Linked DNA regions of Homo sapiens: regions 1, 2 and 3 are each linked to region 4. The links are contacts of gene promoters, found by promoter capture Hi-C in human tissues and cell types (Jung and others, 2019). All regions are on one chromosome and are shown on one strand. Each heading gives the region's core, a stretch centred on a gene start or on the middle of the fragment in contact. The rest is flanking DNA. Distances are from core to core; before and after follow the strand shown.

Region 1 (5,095 bases), core at 579-3,078, 200 kb after region 4:
GTTTCTCCCTGTCGGCCAGGCTGGTCTCGAACTGCTGACCTCAGGCGATCCAACACCTCGGCCTCCCACCTCGAGGCGATCCGACACCTCGGCCCAGGTCGCACTTTTTTGCCCGTTTTGATCCCATCCTCCAACTGCGGCCACAGCCGGAAATGTAGAGAAATTCGCGCTCCTGGGGCCGGCGGGGCTGGCGCTGGCTCACCCGCTCCCCGGGCCCTCCCAGTCGCCAGGTTTGCGCTCGGAGCCCAGGGGCTGCGGGTTCACAGTTCGCCCGCGAGTCGCTGTCAACCCTCCAGGCGCGGCCCGGGGGCGCTCGCGCGCGCTGCCAACGGAGCCATCCCTGACGCGTTCTCAGTCTACGGCAGAAAACGCCAGTCGGCGCCGGACCGTGACTCCAGGGTTTCGCGGAAATAAATTTTAATCCAGTTTTGAAGCCACCACTTGGAGTTCCAGGGCAGTTGCACCCCGGGGGTGCGCTGCCGCCACCGCTTCCCGCCCCCTACTCAGTCTCTAATATTTATGGGTGTCATCTCCATCCTCTGAAGGTTTCTGGACCCCAAACTTAACCAAGAGGCAGAGCCTGAGACTGGGACAGAGAATAAGGGCACGGTCTAGAAAGCCTTCCCTCAACTTGAGGTCCACCTTAAGGCATGGGGCCCACCCTCACCCTCTCCCTGTCATCTAATAGTCCCAGGGGGAGCTGGGAGGTGAGTTACCTGAGGCTCAGTAGGGTTCAGGCTGGGTGCCAGGGACACTCCTAGGCCATCTCCTTGCTGCTTGAGTAAGGGAGAAATCCCCAGGCCTGCTGTGTCCCAGAGGAAGGAAAAATACACACGGTACTTTCCAGGGAGCCCTGCCTTTGTCCCAGGGACTCCAGGCTCTTTTTCTTGTCTGAGCCTCACCTGGCACCTGGCCCGAGACACTCCTGAGATGGGATTAAGCAAGGAGCAGGTGGAGGAGCCCAGGCTTCTCCCTCAGGAAGCAAGTGCTCACATCCAACAGAAGTACCTACATGCCGGCCTGAGCCAGGGCTAGGAGGTACCAGCCAGGATGTGGTCTCGAGGGCGAGTCCTCAGCTCAGATAAGGGAAGGCTGAGGACTGAGATGAAGACACCCAGAGTCTGGCTATTAGAGCACCTGGGGCCAGAGGGGGGTGGTTTCTAAGGGATCCAGGTGCTGGCTGATGCGGTAACTGGAGTAGGGGGCAGGCTGGGCTCAGGGTTCTCCAGGGGCACAGTGAGAGTCTCATCTGGGCAGTCAAGACACTCTCGATGGGCGCAGGGGGTCCAGGAGATCCTAGAAGGTCTAGGTGGGCTGAAATAAGCCTGGCCATAAAGAGAGAAATATGTTTGGATTTTATTTATCCCATTAATTTTTTTTTTCTCTTGACTTGATAACCCTATCCCATGTCTGGTAAACCCAGAGTAAGGAGTCCAAAAGCTGCTGGAGGAGGAGCTATGGGAGCCTCAGTCTCCTCTCTATGCCCCCTCCCTGTGCCCCAGTACAAACCTCCACAGCACCCCTGCAATGATAATGCTCACTGCCAGGACCCGTGTCCAGGGTCTCCCTCTTCAGCCTGAGAGACCACCGTCAGGCACAGCCTGCACCCTCCCGTGCACGGCCCCCACCCCTCCCCTGCTGGCCCACAGTGGAATCAGCCTCTCCGGTTTCTGGTGATTTCATCAGGGCCACATCACATTGCTAGAGCTAGAGATAACATCTCCCTGTGGGTAACCCTTCCCTGCCAAGCCCCCTGAAGCTGGGCCCAGGCTGAGAGGAGGGACTGTGGGGTGTGGAATAAATTTAGGGGTGTGAGGGTCTACCAGGCAGAAGCAGGTTGGCTGTGATGACAGCACAGAGCTCAGGAACGCTGCCTGAGGACCCTGGGGCCTACGAGGAGGAGAAGAGGGCAGGAGCTGGTGGGGTGCTTGCAGAGACCCTGGGCTCCTATCCTGCCATAAGCCTCGCTGTCTCCTGATATCTGCAGCCAGGCCCTACTGACACCCCCAGGCCTGAGTGCAAGCAGAGACCCCACCATTCCCAGGCCCTGGAGGACTGGTCCACCTTAACTGGGCAGCCCTTGGGGCAGGCGCTGGCCGGTGCCTCAGCCCAGGCCTCTGTGCTCTGCATGCACTGCCAGCCTGCCATCAGGCCTCTATTGCAGCCCTGAACCATGATCCAGGGCACCTTGGAGCCAGATGGTCCCCTCTGGGGCTGGGACTGGGACAGTGACAATGACTGGGATAGTGCTGTGCTGGCCCTCCTGGCGCTGGCTGTGGTGGCTGCCACAGCGCTGGCCTTACACTGGTTTGGCTCCGGGCACGATCAAGAGGCGGCAGAACCGGTGTCCACAGCCCTCGGGGCTCAACCTCATCAGGCAGGAGGAGCTGAGCTGGCCCTGCAACCGAAGTCTAAGGTCAGTGATGGCAGCGAGGGGCAGAGCCCAGGGCAGGGGAAACCAGAGCCCCCAGGACGCGGCCAGCAGAGCCCTGTCCCTGCTGCAGCGCCGGGCGGGGGCCTGGCCGCCATGGCCCGGCTTCCACTCAAGACGGCTGTCGAGGAGGCCCGCAGAGAGGCATTAGGACAGCAACGGGGCAGTGCCACCCCCGCGGCCCCCCGAGCGGAAGGAAAGGAGCCTCCCAGGCCAGGCACTGCCCTCCTGGGCAGGAGCGAAGCAGGGGGGATGTCCGCCCCCCTCCTGATCCACTTCACTCCTCGGAGCCCTGGCAGCGAAGCGGAGGCGGAGACAGGTGGTGTCAGGGCGTCCTCTCGCCAGGCCGCAGGCCCCGCGGGGCAACAGGACACTGGCCCCTGGCAGGCGGGCGCGGGGCCCTCGGGCTCGATGGGGAGAGGCCGGGGCCGGCGGCGGCGGATGGACGCTGGCTCGGGAGACAGAGCCCGCCGCCCCCGGAAACTGGACCCGCTCCGCCTGGGCGCCGCGGGGAGCGTGTGGGACGCGGTGGACGGGGCCGCCGCCCTGGACGCCCACGCGCGCGGCCTCCCCACAGGACCCCCACTCGCCCAGGAGCCCGCACTCCCGGCGCTGCCCGCTCCCCGCGCCCTGCAGCCTGGGTCTCAGACGGAAGGCTCTGGGGCCAAGGGTGGCTGGAGCAGGGAGGCCTCGGGGGTCCCTGCCCCCGGAGGAGGCTGGCCCTGGGTCAGCAGGGAGGTCCCGGGCACCCGGAGCTTTGGCCCAGCCCCAGACTCCACGCGCCCCTGGCTAGAGAGTCCGCCTCAAGGTCGCCCACTCTCGTCCCAAGGGCCGGGTGCCACAGGGGCCTACGATGCCGGCGAGGCCGGGGCTGACAGCTCCCGAGATAACAGTCCTGCCGCTGACCTGGGGCCCACCCGGCCCCCGGAGCAAGCAAAGCCGGCTGCAGCCGGCCACAGCCGCGCGCCCTCCCGGAGCCGTGAGCCTCGCCCGCGCTCCGCCTCCCCGCCCGCAGCTCCCGGCCCGGGGTTCCCACCTGAAGCCCTGACTCTCCCCTCTCCTTCAGACTTTTTGCCCCTGGAGGTTACCCAGGATCCTTCCGTGGGCGAAAATCTCAGAGCGGCGCCAGCCCCAAGTTCAGCCTCAGCCCAAGTCTTAACTTCAGCTCCAGCCTCAGTCCTAGCCCCAGCCCTGGCTTCATCCCCCAGCTCAGCACCAACCTCAGCCACCACCTCAACCTCATCCCCCACCTCAGCCCCAGCCCCAGCTCCAACCTCAGCTCCAACTTCAACCCCAGCCCCAGCCCCAAGTCCAGCTGCAGCCGCAACTCCAGCCCCAGCCCCAGTCCCAGTCCCAACCCTCACACCCCCATCCCCAGCCCTAACCCCAGTCCCAACCCCAGCCCTAAGCCCAGCTCCAACTCCAGCCCTAACCCCAGCCGCATCCCCAGCCCTAACCCCAGTCCCAACCCCAGCCCTAAGCCCAGCTCCAACTCCAGCCCCAACCCCAGCCGCATCCCCTGCCCCAGCCCCCACCTCAGCCCCAACCCCAACCCCAGCCGCATCCCCTGCCCCAGCTGACGGGTCAAAGCCTCAGGAGAGTGTGGCTCTCCCCAGGCGCTACCAGGAGGGGCAGGTCTCAGCCAGCTGGGGAAACCTTATTGCCATGGTTCTTAGAAGCCACCCCTTCCCCAGGCAAGACAGGCCCCAAGGGAGTGTCCCGAGGGCGGTTCCCGGGAGCCCCGTGGGTCCCAGCACTTCCACACACTCTGAGGACAGACACGGCCCCTCTTCTTCAGTGGGGACAGTCATAGGGACAGGTACAGGGGGCCTGGTTGAGGCTGGAGGTCAGCCACAGCCAAGAAGCTCCGAGACCAACGGATCGCCCAGCCCAGACCCTCCCCCAGGCCTAAGAGGAGAGGGAACCAGGGAGAAAAGTCTAGACCCGCTGCCCCAAGCCGCGATGCCCAGGGGCCCCGCACAGCCCCCCGCGCAGAGGCCGCCTGGCCCCGCGGCCTCCTCCTCTGCGAGGCGCTCACAGCCGGTACCCCAGCTACGGAAACGCAGCAGGTGCGAAATCGCCCCGAGCTCGGAGCAGGAGGTCAGGCCGGCCGCCTCGGGGGACCCTCAAGGGGAGGCGCCGGGGGAGGGGGGCAGCCCTGCCGGCCGCAGCGGGGCGCTCACGGAAAAGCAGGAGGAGGCCCGGAAGCTCATGGTGTTTCTGCAGAGGCCCGGGGGTTGGGGGGTGGTGGAGGGGCCCCGGAAGCCCAGCTCCCGGGCCCTGGAGCCCGCCACGGCGGCAGCCCTGCGGCGGCGGCTGGACCTGGGCAGTTGCCTGGACGTGCTGGCCTTTGCCCAGCAGCACGGAGAGCCCGGCCTGGCGCAGGAGACCTACGCGCTGATGAGCGACAACCTGCTGCGAGTGCTGGGAGACCCGTGCCTCTACCGCCGGCTGAGCGCGGCCGACCGCGAGCGCATCCTCAGCCTGCGGACCGGCCGGGGCCGGGCGGTGCTGGGCGTCCTCGTACTGCCCAGCCTCTACCAGGGGGGCCGCTCAGGGCTCCCCAGGGGCCCTCGTGGCGAGGAGCCTCCTGCGGCGGCCCCTGTGTCCCTGCCTCTACCTGCGCACCTGCATGTGTTCAACCCCCGGGAGAACACCTGGCGG
Region 2 (4,453 bases), core at 1,589-4,088, 150 kb before region 4:
GGTGGGGGCTGACCGCAGACCTGGGGCTGCCACACCCATGGGGGAAGGGCTGTGGCGACGTGGGCGCCTCCTGTTGGCTGGGCCGACGCAGCCTCCCGCCCGGCTGCACAGGAGTTTCTTTAAGGAGTTTCCCCGGTGTGCCTCGGCAGCCTTGCGCTGCTCTAATGGTCCGGACTTCCGTGTGTGAGTTTCCCCCGTGCGCCCCGGCAGTCTTGCGCTGCTCCTAAGAGTTCTGGCTTGTGTGTGTAGCTAGACCCAGGGAGGCGGCCGTCTCCCGGACCGGGTGCTTGTCTGGGCTGGCTGGCCTGGCGGCTGCTCACAACAGCTTCCGGTGGGTTCCGGTCGGGTTGCATCGTGGAGCTTTCACCTACAAAAGGGGAAGGAGGCGGCCCAAGGGTCCGGGGCCTGGTCCTGCTGTGACCGGTGCCAGCTGCACTTCCTGGATGTGCCAACCGCTAAGACGCCCAGGCCAGGGTTGGGTCCAGACTCAAGCCCAGGTGGCAAGGAGTGGGACCCCCTGCCAAGGCTGTGAGGCCCCATAGGGGAGCCTGCCTGTGGAGCGGGCCCCCCTTGCCCTCTGCAGAGGCTCAAGGCCCCCGGGGACATGAGCCTGGTGTTTATCAGCTGTCTCCTTAGTCTCAGCTGACCTCCCCCGACCATGGCCCCATTGCACCACCCACCCCAAGCCAGGCCAGTTCCTCTCCCAGAAGTCCCGGCTGTCCAAGAAGAGGGCAGGGTGGGCTGCCCTCTTCTCGGCCAGCTTCAGATGGGGCCTCTGGTTGCACTGAGACAGGCCTCTTCCCCTGCTCAGAGCCGTCCCTGCTCCCCCAGCCCCTGAGCTGCCCTCCTAGACACTGCACAGAGAGCTCCTTCCTGTTCACAGGTTAGGACACCCAAGCTTGGAGGCATCTTAACTTGGATGTGGGTGGCCAGGACCCAGCTGGGTCTGTGAGTCCTGGCTGGGGCCGAGGTCTGTGCCTGCTGTGGCTGTGTGCCAACAGGGTTTGCAGAGGAAAGGAACCTGACATAGCGTCTTATTGCTCATTGTTCCTTTTTCTTATGAGTTCTGAGAAGTGGGCAGCAGTAGTGACATGAAAATGACCCCAGATGCACGCAGGCATCAGTGCAGAACCCGGCAGTGGCCCCTCTGAAGCACATCCTACAAGCCCCGTCGTTTCCTCGCCAGATGCTCGTGTCTGACTGACGCAGACGCTTCAAGACAAAACCACAATACCTTGCACGACTAGACAGCTCAGAATGGTTTCCAACGGCTCATTTTTATTTTTTACTTTTGTTTTTTTCTTGAGACAGAGTCTCCCTCTGTCACCCAGGTTGGAGTGCAGTGACAGGATCTCGGCTCACTGCAACCTCAGCCTCTCGGGTTCAAAGTGATTCTCCTGCCTCAGCCTCCCCAGTAGCTGGGATTACGGGTGTGCACCACCACGCCTGGCTAATTTGTGTATTTTTGGTAGAGATGGGGTTTCACCAGGATGGTCTATGTTGGCCAGGCTGGTCTCGAACTCCTGAGCTCAGGCAGTCCATCCACCTTGGCCCCCCAAAGTGCTGGGATTACAGGTGTGAGCCACCGCGCCTGGCCTGTTTGGGATATTTTAATGATTCTGCCTGGTGACACATCCATCCGCCAGGACATGCATGAGCCATTAACTTGGTAAACAGTCACTCCTGGCATTCCGTGGCTGAGAACATTCAGGAAGAGCCACATGGTGCAGCAGGGCCTGTGGCCAGTCTCAGGACAGCCTGCTGGTCCCTGGCCCCGCCTCGAGGGGCTCCGCGCAGGTCTCGCCGATGCTCTGTGGGTCTTGGCCGGTGCGTGCCTCTGGTGCTGCAGGCGCCTGGCTGTTTTCTTCCTTCCCTCAGGCTCCTGGGCCCCCGGCCTGAGCTCCTGGTTTCTGAGAGTCTGTGGGGAGCTGTGATGCCTCGGGGCAGCCCCCTCGTGTGGCTGCCCCAGCCTGTCCGGGTTTCTACCGTGGTTCCTTCCACACCATGTTTGTCTCTTAAAGTGGGAGAGAAGGTCTTAGGTCCAAACACGTTGATTTGTGTGCTTTGTGGATTCCTCCGTCTGTACTGACTCTGTGCCGGTGTTGTTGCCCAGGCTGTAGTTACTGAAAGGGGAAGTGGCTTTTGTACAAAGGCCCTGGGGTCCTTGCCATGTGTCAGCAGCTGCGTTGCTGTGTCCTGAGATCATGTGTGGACCCCAGGGCTGCCTTCCTATGTGTGCCCGCCGTGCCGCAGTGAGGGTTGGGCAGCTCTGGCCCTGTTCTGAGTGAGGCCTGTGCACCAGCAACCCGCCCTGGGCCCGTCTGCGTTTGGTTTATGCTGGGGTGTCTGGGGACCTGCTGGCCTTTCCCCACCCGGGCCTGACCTGAACCGACCCTGGACCTCAGCAGCCTTTGATGGGCAGGAGGCATTTGGGGATATGGGGGAAGGAGCCCCCAGGCCCACCCAACAGATGGTTCTAGACTGACAGGGCACTACGCAGTGAGTCCTGAGCCAGGTCTGGGGCTCCAGGTGGAAACCCCGCCTCTCATGCCTCTCCTCAGGCTCCCCACAGGTGCAGGAAGCCGCCGCCCAGCCATGGACGGGGAGGAGCAGCAGCCACCGCACGAGGTGAGGTGGAGGCTGGGCTGGCTGCACAGAGACAGGGGCGGGGGGCTTCCCCGCTTTGTGGGCTCTCGGGGTCGGTCCCTGGCTGTTGTTCTGCAAAGGTGATCTTCACAGGGTTCTCCAGGGTCAGGCAGGAGGCACCTCCGAGGGAGAGGGGCGCTGGGCTGAGGTGGCCTGGTGGCCCTGTCTGCCCAGCTTGATGGCAGCCGTGCCAGTGATGGCCAAGCAGGAGGGGTACTGACAGTGTGGGGCCTAGGCTCTACGGAGGCCCTGCTTTTCAGGGTGTGTGGTACACAGAGCGGCCACGGGTCCCTTTCCCGGGTACGTGGTCCGTGGAGCGGTCACGGGCCCTCGTTTTTCAGGGTGTGTGGTCCACACAGCGGCCACGGGTCCCTTTCCAGGGTACGTGGTCCGTGGAGTTGCCACGGAGCCCTGGCTTTCTGGGGTGCATGGACCCTGACTTGAACTCTCCTTTCCACCTGCAGGCCAACGTGGAACCTGTTGTGCCGTCAGAGGCTTCAGAGCCGGTGCCCAGGGTGCTTTCTGGAGACCCCCAGAACCTGTGTACGTGTCCCTCAGGGTCCTGGCACGTTCCCCGGTGTTGGGCTGTTGAGTCAGGGAGGAGGGGGAGGCAGCCAACCACTGCCAGGGGCTTGGAGCTTGTGGTGAGCAGGGGCCCTGGCCGAGACCTGAGGTAGGTGCTGCTAGGCCTGGTGCCACCCAACAGCAGCTGCTCCTGGGCCCTGCCTGGCAGTGGAGCCTCTTGGAGGGGCTGCAAGCAGCACAGGCAGGCCCCTGGGCATGGGGGGCTCGTGAGCACAAGCAGTGTGAGCGGCACGGGAGTCCCTCCTTGCTGTGGCCTCAGCCTGTCCCTCCTGAGTGGGGTGGGGGGGCCCATTTCGCCTCAGAGCCCCTCCCCTAGCTGAGCCCCCTGCGGCACCTGCCCCCACTGTCCCCCACACCGAACCTCATCCACAGCAACCCCCAAGGTCGCCCTCATGGGGTGTATGGGGCACAGGACTCCTGAGGCCCTGGCTTCTCGAAGCCGTGCAGCTCACAGAGGTGGTAGCCGGTGTTCCCATCACTGGGCAGGCAAAGCCTGTGGAGTGTGACGCTCGTCAGGAGTCTTGTGCTCTGCACCTGTTCAGTTCTCAGAACCCAGGAGGGTTCTAGAGCCCAGGCTGCCAGCGGGCCCGGCGGCGTCCTTGGGGTGGGCCCGGCACCACAACGGCCTGTGCTGCTGTTGCAGCCGACGTGGACGCCTTCAACCTGCTCCTGGAGATGAAGCTGAAGCGGCGGCGTCAGCGGCCCAACCTGCCGCGCACTGTGACCCAGTTGGTGGCTGAGGACGGGAGCAGGGTGTACGTGGTGGGGACAGCCCACTTCAGCGACGACAGCAAGAGGGACGTTGTGAAGGTGAGCGCCGCCACCCGCCACATCCCGGACACGGGTTGGTGTAAGCTCCTGTGTCCTGCACTCAGGGACCTCCCGGCAGGGCCCGTGTGCCCGTGTGTGCGCACCGCAGGCCTCCTGCTTCAACACTGTGGTCCCTGGGAGTGGCAAGGTGGGCTTCCTGCCTGGGAGCCGTGACGGCCTTGTGCGTTTTCCCACTTAACAAGTGAACAAGCCTCACAGCTTCCTCTCTCGTCGCTTAGAGAATTGAGCTGTCACTGCAGCAGCGGGGTTAGCTAGCCCTGGGGTGACGCCAAGGCTGGCTGCTCCTGGGATGGGGCCCCTGGTGCTGGCGTCAGCTGTGCTGAGGGGCAGGGAGCGGCTGTGTTCTCGAGGTGTGACCTGTGGCTGTTGCAGACCATCCGGGAGGTGCAGC
Region 3 (4,433 bases), core at 1,184-3,683, 190 kb before region 4:
CAGAGGCACTCTGTGCAGAAGCAGGGAGGGTGCTGCAGGCCGCTCTCTCAGAGGCGCTCTGTGCAGAAGCAGGGAGGGTGCTGCAGGCCGCTCTCTCAGAGGCGCTCTGTGCAGAAGCAGGGAGGGTGCTGCAGGCCGCTCTCTCAGAGGCGCTCTGTGCAGAAGCAGGGAGGGTGCTGCAGGCCGCTCTCTCAGAGGCGCTCTGTGCAGAAGCAGGGAGGGTGCTGCAGGCCGCTCTCTCAGAGGCGCTCTGTGCAGAAGCAGGGAGGGTGCTGCAGGCCGCTCTCTCAGAGGCGCTCTGTGCAGAAGCAGGGAGGGTGCTGCAGGCCGCTCTCTCAGAGGCGCTCTGTGCAGAAGCAGGGAGGGTGCTGCAGGCCGCTCTCTCAGAGGCGCTCTGTGCAGAAGCAGGGAGGGTGCTGCAGCCCAGCTGCAGAGGCCCCACAGCGTTAGTTGGCCACTGGGGGCGGCTGGAGTGGGGAGGGGCACTTCAAAGGGCAAAGAAGTAGCAATGTCATCTGGCAAAAGTGACATTAAATAACTGCAATTAATACAGAATTGAAACCTAAATACTTACATTCTAGGAAAGATACATAATGTTAATTTTTTTCAACAGAAATAGGGACATGAGATGGGGAAATGGCAGTTTGCTGATTTCCACATCTTTCACTGGGAGGGGTTCACGGTGTCACTTGTGAAATCCGTGTCTTGAGAGTTACACATTGATACCTGAAGTGAAAGGTGTCAGCTGACCGTGAGTGGATGCAGGACATGTTGGGCCCAGCACTGCTGTAAGCAGGAGCCCGCCCCCGCACAGGTCTGACCACAGGGTCTCACCCCACAGTGGGACACCTGAGGCTCAGAGGTGATGGATTTGCCCAGCATCTAGGGTTGGAGAGGGGAGATCCTGGAATCAGCAGTGAGAAGGGTAAACGTGGGCTCGGCAGTGAGGACGGTGCGGGCCCAAGGTGCGTCCTGTTGAGTGTTGGCGTGGCTCCGGACACTCTCTCTGCCCCATACCTGCTTCCTCAGGCATCAGGACATGTTTCTGCCCCAAGAGCATTTCCCCACTGAGGCCTCCTGACCACAGAGCAGAAGCTGCTGGGGTGGGCGAGCCAGGGAAGCCGGGGCACCTGTTCCTCAGCTCATGGCCCCAGGTGGGGTGGCCCCTCTGCACTCTAGAAACAGATCATGTGCCGAGCGAGCTCCTGCTCTCCGCTCAGTCCCACAGCCTTCCCATGCAAGAGTTCCGCAGCTTCTCCTGACGACTCCTTCCCGCAAAATCCCCACCCCGTCCATCAGCAACGCTGTGGACTCTCTGCTCCTGCACCTCCCTTACCTCCCTTGTCACACGGAGAAGGAAGAGCCGGACAGGTACCCGCCAGGAGGGCTGCTCTGTAGCTGGGAACCTCACTGAGTTTGCAGCAGGGGCCAGAATTGTGGGGAGCCATTCTAGAGACCGCATTTTCTTTTTTTCTTTTTTTTTTTTTTTTATGAGATGGAGTCTTGCTCTGTCACCCAAGCTGGAGTGCAGTGGCGCGATCTCAGCTCACTGCAAGCTCCGCCTCCCAGGTTCACGCCATTCTCCTGCCTCAGCTTCCCGAGTAGCTGGGACTACAGGCGCCCGCCACCACACCCGGCTAATTTTTTTGTATTTTGAGTAGAGACGGGGTTTCACCGTGTTAGCCAGGATGGTCTTGATCTCCTGACCTCGTGATCCACCCATCTCGGCCTCCCAAAGTGCTGGCATTACAGGCGTGAGCCACTGCGCCCGACCAACCCCATTTTCTTAATGGTGCCGCAGATTGGGAAGTGGCTCCCAGGGCCTCAGCCTATTGGCATGCAGGCCAGGCAGTGCCCAGCTGAGAGTGGCTCACAAGGATGAGTCAGGAGGAAATGAGCGGATGGCAGGAGAGGCTGCCATCTGTGGCCGCCTGCATGGCCAGGCCTGTTCTCAGCGCTTTACAGCGGCCAGTTCAGCTGCTCTCACCTCAGCCACCTCCCGAGAGACACGTGGGAGGTGGAGGCTCAGAGAGGGGAAGTCAGGACTAGAGCCTGGGCATTTTGATAATGACAGGAGTGAGACGCAGGTGGAGAGCAGGCCAGGAGCCTGCGGCGCTTCTCCTGTGAGCTGCCCCCAGGAGGCGCTCGTGTGTTGCCCATCGCTCCCACCCCTTCTTCCCTCCACATCTCTAGAAATACAGACGCTGCGTGCAAAGCACTGGGTGCTGATGTGGCTTAGCATCTCCTGACACCTGTGGCCTGTCCTCCCTCCAGCCGGGTGACACCCAGACCCCCAGCTCCTGCACACCCCTGGGCAACCCTGCTGTGCCCCCGGGGTGCTGAGCGTGGCTTTGCCAGTGTGTCAGAGGCATCAATTGCTAAAACAATTCGGCAGAAATTACCATTTAGAACATCTTTGCTCTAGAGTTGGGCACTTCACTCACGTGTTTGTGGACGAGGCTGGGCAGGCAAGTGAGCCGGAATGCCTCATTCCTCTGGGGCTGATGTCGGACATCAGTGGCCAGGTAAGTCCCGACTACTGTGTGTGCTGCTTCCTCCTCACCCCGTTCTCCTGAGGGGATGCAGGCTGCGATCCTGCCGGGAACAGTCACAGCTGTACAGGGGTCAGGTGGAAGTGCCAAGGACCCCGAGGTGTTGGGGGCCATGGGTCTCTATTGTACTTTATTCCTTTTGGACTAGAAGTGAATGTCTTGACTCATTTACTTGTAAAACGGAGGTAAGAGCCATTCTAGGTGTTGGGGATACAGCGGTAAAGTCAGGAATGTGGTCCCTGCTCTGGGTGAGCCGGCCGTTCAGTGCCTGGAGGGGCGGACAGGGCCAGTGCTCCTGCATCTGACCCACTTGCCCCTCAGGCTGCCCTGGCCTCCAGCTCTGTGCATCCTCTGTTCTCTGCTCCCACCTGCTTCCTCCCCGAGTGCTTCTGATGGTGGCGTGGGCATCACCTTGAACTTCCCTGGTTCTCTCACTGTGGCTCATCCAGGCGAGCTCATCCAGTGTCCAGCACTGGACATTTCAGGGTCCTCCTTGGCACCCATCCTAGATGTCTGTCCCAGTCACCAGGCACTGTGGGGCGGAGCATGAAGGTGACGCCTAGGGAGGGAGCAGGGACTGGTCCAGGCAGAGCAGCGGCATAGGGCGGCCTGACCAGGTCAAGGCAACCATGGGCAAGAGGCAAGGGGCAGGTGGGATGGCGGCCAGGGCCAGCCATGCAGAAGCTTCCAGAAGATAGACGGCATCCTTGGGGCTCTTACCACTTTGAGAGATTCGCAGGAGAGAAAACCAGGCTGCAGAAGCCGGGCAGATGGCAGGACTTCGGGGAGGCAGATGGCAGGACTTCAGGGGGAAGCGGGGAGAGACGGCTCCAAGCCCTGTCGGCATTCCCTGGTCTCCCAGTCCCTCCCGTCGTCCCCTGCAGCAAGAGTGAGCATGGGGCCATCCTGCGCACAGCCCCATTCCCACCTGAGCCCGTAGGAGTGGCAGCGGCACCCTCCCTGCATGAGCTGAGACGGGCCCTCTGTGTGCAGATCGTGCTGGCAGGAGACCCCATGCAGCTCGGCCCAGTCATTAAGTCCAGACTCGCCATGGCCTATGGGCTGAACGTGTCCTTTTTGGAACGGCTGATGTCTCGACCCGCGTACCAGAGGGACGAAAATGCTTTCGGTGCTTGTGGCGCACATAATCCCCTGTTGGTGAGTCACAGACTCCAGCGCGTTCAGGTCCCCAGCTAAGCAGACACAGGCTCCAGGGCAGTCGAGCAGCTCACTCTTCTGTCCACCTGAGTCATCTCCATCCGTGGGCAGAGTGCAGGGGAGCACCCACCATAGCACCTCCCCCGTCAGCAGAAACTGCAGCCTGGTGCTGATGGCTGAGACTCTGGGGTCAGATTCAGTAAAATAAGTTAAAATCTGTGTTACTCTGTTAACGTTAAGAAAAGCAAGAAATAATTTTTGTGACTTAAAAAGCCTGCCCTAGAGTGACTGCAGGCAGTGTCTCCTCAGTGGTCTCTGACCCCAAGGTCCCACTGAAGTGCAGGTCTGGGCTCTCAGCCAACCTTGCACCAAATTCTGAGGGATGGGCTTTGGGATTTGCATCTTTGGAGCCCCCAGCACACTGAGCTTGGGCCTCCAGGGCCCATCATTCAACAGTGAACCAAGTAGCCTCAGTTTGTAAGCCCCTGTAGCCCACAGAAAAACAGTCTCCATCTGATTCCCATTGCCAGTATTAACATCAATAGAAAATGAGGGGCAGTTACCATGGGCAGACTTTCAGGGAAAAGGACTGGACCCCATTCTTGGTTGTCAAGGGTAGGGAGCAGGTGGGGGTCTTCAGGCCAAGGAAGGCCTCATGAGGGACTACCCGCAAGACAGGACCGGCTGTGCCAGGAGGCCATGAAACTGCCCCCAGGAAGATGG
Region 4 (4,478 bases), core at 47-2,546:
CCAGTTGCACTGGCTGAGCACAGGAGGGGTATCAAGATCAGGCAGAGTTGCACGTGCTCACGGCAGCAGGAGCATCTCCTGCATCTGGTGCCCCTGGCCCCAGTCCCCATTCCGTAGCTCAACTCAGCAGCACCTCCCGCTCCTGCAAAGGAGACCATGGTGAGGGCAGGAGAAGGGCATAGCCTGCTGAACGCAGGGTGTCTCTTCTCTAGGTTGTGAGGCTGAGGCTTTTTCACCCCCACTTCCTGGAAGTTCCCTCAACGGAACCTGCCAGAAATCTGCCCCTTAGGATGCTAGGGGAAAAGCTTTTGCTGGGGAAAGGCTCGCCAGAGGCATCTGCTATAAAACCGGCGAGGAGGGTGCTGCTGACCAGGGCAGGGGACAGGCGTCGGGGAAGCCCGGGGCCGCCAGCCGCAGGGCCAAGCCCTTTTCTCCTGCAACGTCTCTGGCGCCCTCTACCGACAAAGCCTAACAGCGCCAGCTGGCAAAAGAGAAATACCGAATATTTGAGCCGCCCAGATACGCTTTCGCAGAGAGCATCGGTGAATCCTGGGCAATACACTGACAACTGGAAAAAACGTTTAGAGATCCCTTAAGTGCTCCATGTTTTCCCAACATTTACCCACGGCTCGCTCTAACATCTGAAATAATAGTAATCATTTTTGAAATTATTTTGATGGAATTAAACAATTCCAGCACTTGTTAAATAGGCACATACTTAATTTGCAAAACGCCGTGCAAGAACCCGTAGCGCACCTGGAGAAAACTGTCTGGAGGCGGCTCAGGCACTCCGGGTCCAGGCAGGACGCGGGACGGGGAGGGGCCAGGCCTGGCGCCCGGGGCTGAGCCCGCTCCTGCTGCTCGGGGCGTCCACGCCCCGCGGCCTCTGGGAGGGGCCTGTGGCAGGAGGGAGGCCCGGGAGAACAGGCCCTTTCCTGGGCCACGGGGGAAACCCCTGCCCCAGGTGTGTGTCTCTCAAATGCTGCGTCGGGCCACGCGAGGATTGTTTTGTGGCTACAACAAAATTAACTATGCTTGCACAAAACTTTAGCCAATACCTCAAAGGGAAACGTAAAAGGGGAAAGACGCACTCTTACCCCACCCACTCCAAGGCAGCAGTCAGCACACCCAAGCCCTCGTGCTCCCACGCGGGTTTCACCGAGTGCCCCACTCCAGGGGGCCCGGAGAGCCGGCCCAGGTCCCGGCCCCGCCCACCCGCGCGGCCCCGCCCCCGGCCGCGAGCGTGCGCGCCCCAAGCGGAGACCCCGCCCCCGGAGCGCGTGCCCGTGCGCCGCCGCCGCCATTTTGGAGCGATCGGAGTGCCGCCCGCGGCCCCGAGTCGGTCTCGAGCCGCCGGCCGGCCGTGCCGGTGTCCGTAGGCGCTGCGCCCTCGGCCGGGCCCATGTGTGTGCGGCCCGCCCGAGGCCGCCCGGGCTTTGCCTCCACCAGCGCCCTGGCCTCCGCTCGGGCCTCCACACGGGCCTCCGAAGAGCTGCCGCGACGCCCGGCCCGCAGGGCAGGTGAGTGCGGCCGCCCGCCGCTCAGACCCGGCCCCCAGTCTGCCAGTGCCCCCCAAGTCACTTCTCCCCGAGTCAGTCAGTGCCCCCTCCAGATAGTTATCCCCCAGTCAGTCAGTTCCCCCTCCAGTCAGTTCCCCCCAGTCGGTGCCCCCGGAGTCAGTGCCCCCCCCAAGTCAGTCAGTGCCCCCTCCAGTCAGTTCCCCCCCAGTTAGTGCACCCTCTAGTCAGTTCCCCCAGTCAGTGCCCCCTCCAGTCAGTTCCCCCCCAGTCAGTTCCCCCCCAGTCAGTTTCCCCCCAGTCAGTTTCCCCCCAGTCAGTGCCCCCCAGTCAGTGCCCCCTCCAGTCAGTTCCCCCCCAGTCAGTGCCCCCTCCAGTCAGTTTCCCCCCAGTCAGTGCCCCCTCCAGTCAGTTCCCCCCCAGTCAGTGCCTCCTCCAGTCAGTTTCCCCCAGTCAGTGCCTCCTCCAGTCAGTTTCCCCCAGTCAGTGCCCCCTCCAGTCAGTTCCCCCCCCAGTCAGTGCCCCCTCTAGTCAGTTCCCCCCCAGTCAGTGCCCCCTCTAGTCAGTTCCCCCCCAGTCAGTGCCCCCTCTAGTCAGTTTCCCCCCAGTCAGTGCCTCCTCCAGTCAGTTTCCCCCAGTCAGTGCCTCCTCCAGTCAGTTTCCCCCAGTCAGTGCCTCCTCCAGTCAGTTTCCCCCAGTCAGTGCCCCCTCCAGTCAGTTCCCCCCAGTCAGTGCCCCCCCAGTCAGTTTCCCCCCAGTCAGTGCCCCCCAGTCAGTGCCCCCCAGTCAGTGCCCCCTCCAGTCAATTCCCCCCAGTCAGTGCCCCCTCCAGTCAGTTCCCCCCCCAGTCAGTGCCCCCTTCAGTCAGTTCCCCCAGTCAGTGCCCCCTCCAGTCAGTTCCCCCCCAGTCAGTGCCCCCCCAGTCAGTTTCCCCCCAGTCAGTGCCCCCCAGTCAGTGCCCCCTCCAGTCAATTCCCCCCAGTCAGTGCCCCCTCCAGTCAATTCCCCCCAGTCAGTGCCTCCTCCAGTCAGTTTCCCCCAGTCAGTGCCCCCTCCAGTCAGTTCCCCCCAGTCAGTGCCCCCCCAGTCAGTTTCCCCCCAGTCAGTGCCCCCCAGTCAGTGCCCCCTCCAGTCAATTCCCCCTAGTCAGTGCCCCCTCCAGTCAGTTCCCCCCCAGTCAGTGCCTCCTCCAGTCAGTTTCCCCCAGTCAGTGCCTCCTCCAGTCAGTTTCCCCCAGTCAGTGCCCCCTCCAGTCAGTTCCCCCCCCAGTCAGTGCCCCCTCTAGTCAGTTCCCCCCCAGTCAGTGCCCCCTCTAGTCAGTTCCCCCCCAGTCAGTGCCCCCTCTAGTCAGTTCCCCCCCAGTCAGTGCCCCCTCTAGTCAGTTCCCCCCCAGTCAGTGCCCCCTCTAGTCAGTTTCCCCCCAGTCAGTGCCTCCTCCAGTCAGTTTCCCCCAGTCAGTGCCTCCTCCAGTCAGTTTCCCCCAGTCAGTGCCTCCTCCAGTCAGTTTCCCCCAGTCAGTGCCCCCTCCAGTCAGTTCCCCCCAGTCAGTGCCCCCCCAGTCAGTTTCCCCCCAGTCAGTGCCCCCCAGTCAGTGCCCCCTCCAGTCAATTCCCCCCAGTCAGTGCCCCCTCCAGTCAGTTCCCCCCCAAGTCAGTGCCCCCTCCAGTCAGTTCCCCCAGTCAGTGCCCCCTCCAGTCAGTTCCCCCCCAGTCAGTGCCTCCTCCAGTCAGTTTCCCCCAGTCAGTGCCCCCTCCAGTCAGTTCCCCCCCCAGTCAGTGCCCCCTCCAGTCAGTTCCCCCCCCCAGTCAGTACACCCTCTAGTCAGTTCCCCCAGTCAGTGCCCCCTCCAGTCAGTTCCCCCCAGTCAGTTTCCCCCCAGTCAGTTTCCCTCCAGTCAGTGCCCCCCAGTCAGTGCCCCCTCCAGTCAGTGCCCCCTCCAGTCAGTTTCCCCCCAGTCAGTGCCCCCTCCAGTCAGTTCCCCCCAGTCAGTTTTCCCCCAGTCAGTTTCCCTCCAGTCAGTGCCCCCCAGTCAGTGCCCCCTCCAGTCAGTGCCCCCTCCAGTCAGTTTCCCCCCAGTCAGTGCCCCCTCCAGTCAGTTCCCCCCCAGTCAGTTTCCCCCCAGTCAGTTTCCCTCCAGTCAGTGCCCCCTCCAGTCAGTTCCCCCCATCAGTGCCCCCCTAGTCAGTGCCCCCTCCAGTCAGTTCCCCCCCCCCGGTCAGTTCCCCCCCCCAGTCAGTGCCCCCTCCAGTCAGTTTCCCCCCAGTCAGTGCCCCCCAAGTCAGTGCCCCCTCCAGTCAGTTCCCCCCCAGTCAGTGCCCCCCTCCAGTCAGTTCCCCCCAGTCAGTGCATCCTCTAGTCAGTTCCCCCCAGTCAGTGAACCCTCCAGTCAGTGACCCACCCAGTCAGTGCCCCCTCCAGTCAGTTCCCCCCCAGTCAGTGCCCCCCTCCAGTCAGTTCCCCCCAGTCAGTGCATCCTCTAGTCAGTTCCCCCCAGTCAGTGAACCCTCCAGTCAGTGACCCACCCAGTCAGTGCCCCCTCCAGTCAGTTCCCCCAGTCAGTTGCCCCCCAGTCAGTGCCCCCCAAGTCAGTCAGTTCCCCCTCCAGTCAGTTCCCCCAGTCAGTCAGTGCCCCCCAGTCAGTGCCCCCCCCAAGTCAGTCACTGTCCCCTCCAGTCAGTGCCCCTCCAGTAAGTTCTCCCCAGTCAGTGCATCCCCTAGTCAGTTCCCCCCAGTCAGTGCCCCCTTCAGTGTCCCCCAGTCAGTTCCCCTCAGTCAGTGCCCCCCCAGTCAGTTCCCCCCGCAATCAGTTCCCCCGTCAGTGCCCCCTCCAGTCAGTGCCCCCCAAATCAGTGCCCCCAGTCAGTGCCCACTCCAGTCAGTTCCCCTCCAGTAAGTGCCCCCCAAGTCAGTTTCCTCCCAAGTCAGGGCCCCCTCCAGTCAGTTCCCTCCCAGTCAGTCAGT

Evidence for each region. The method cuts DNA at HindIII sites, captures the fragments that hold promoters and counts their contacts. A contact is called where the count stands out against the background at its distance.
Region 1: a contact is called between the fragment with the promoter of KLHDC7B here and the fragment with the promoter of PPP6R2 in region 4, in 2 of the 25 tissues and cell types used here (dorsolateral prefrontal cortex and spleen).
Region 2: a fragment that was not itself captured here is called in contact with the fragment with the promoter of PPP6R2 in region 4 in 1 of the 25 tissues and cell types used here (dorsolateral prefrontal cortex).
Region 3: a fragment that was not itself captured here is called in contact with the fragment with the promoter of PPP6R2 in region 4 in 1 of the 25 tissues and cell types used here (spleen).

What each region holds. Positions count from the first base shown.
Region 1 is chr22:50,544,071-50,549,165 of GRCh38, forward strand. It overlaps KLHDC7B (kelch domain containing 7B), which reads left to right and starts at 1,829. Exons shown (of 1, transcript NM_138433.5): 1 at 1,829-5,095. The coding sequence starts at 2,174. It overlaps KLHDC7B-DT (KLHDC7B divergent transcript), which reads right to left and starts at 4,877. Exons shown (of 4, transcript NR_199716.1): 1 at 4,826-4,877; 2 at 2,304-2,398; 3 at 717-1,325. RefSeq lists silencers at 150-444, 4,355-4,784, 4,865-5,024. The HindIII fragment of the contact is 12,740 bases long and covers 1,456-5,095 here.
Region 2 is chr22:50,190,466-50,194,918 of GRCh38, forward strand. TRABD (TraB domain containing) reads left to right here. Exons shown (of 10, transcript NM_001320485.2): 2 at 2,562-2,628; 3 at 3,111-3,189; 4 at 3,875-4,041; 5 at 4,435-4,453. The coding sequence starts at 2,596. Among named protein-coding and RNA genes, the nearest start is that of TRABD, 6.8 kb to the left of the region's middle. RefSeq lists enhancers at 1-419, 105-464, 735-954, 2,055-2,104, 2,185-2,274 and 1 more and a silencer at 1,445-1,494. The HindIII fragment of the contact is 4,938 bases long and covers 370-4,453 here.
Region 3 is chr22:50,147,190-50,151,622 of GRCh38, forward strand. It overlaps MOV10L1 (Mov10 like RNA helicase 1), which reads left to right. Exons shown (of 27, transcript NM_018995.3): 20 at 2,426-2,525; 21 at 3,546-3,710. Among named protein-coding and RNA genes, the nearest start is that of PANX2, 21 kb to the right of the region's middle. The HindIII fragment of the contact is 5,425 bases long and covers 1-4,433 here.
Region 4 is chr22:50,342,031-50,346,508 of GRCh38, forward strand. It overlaps PPP6R2 (protein phosphatase 6 regulatory subunit 2), which reads left to right and starts at 1,297. Exons shown (of 24, transcript NM_001242898.2): 1 at 1,297-1,520. RefSeq lists an enhancer at 5-651 and silencers at 748-917, 1,188-1,467, 1,478-1,557. The HindIII fragment of the contact is 17,181 bases long and covers 1-4,478 here.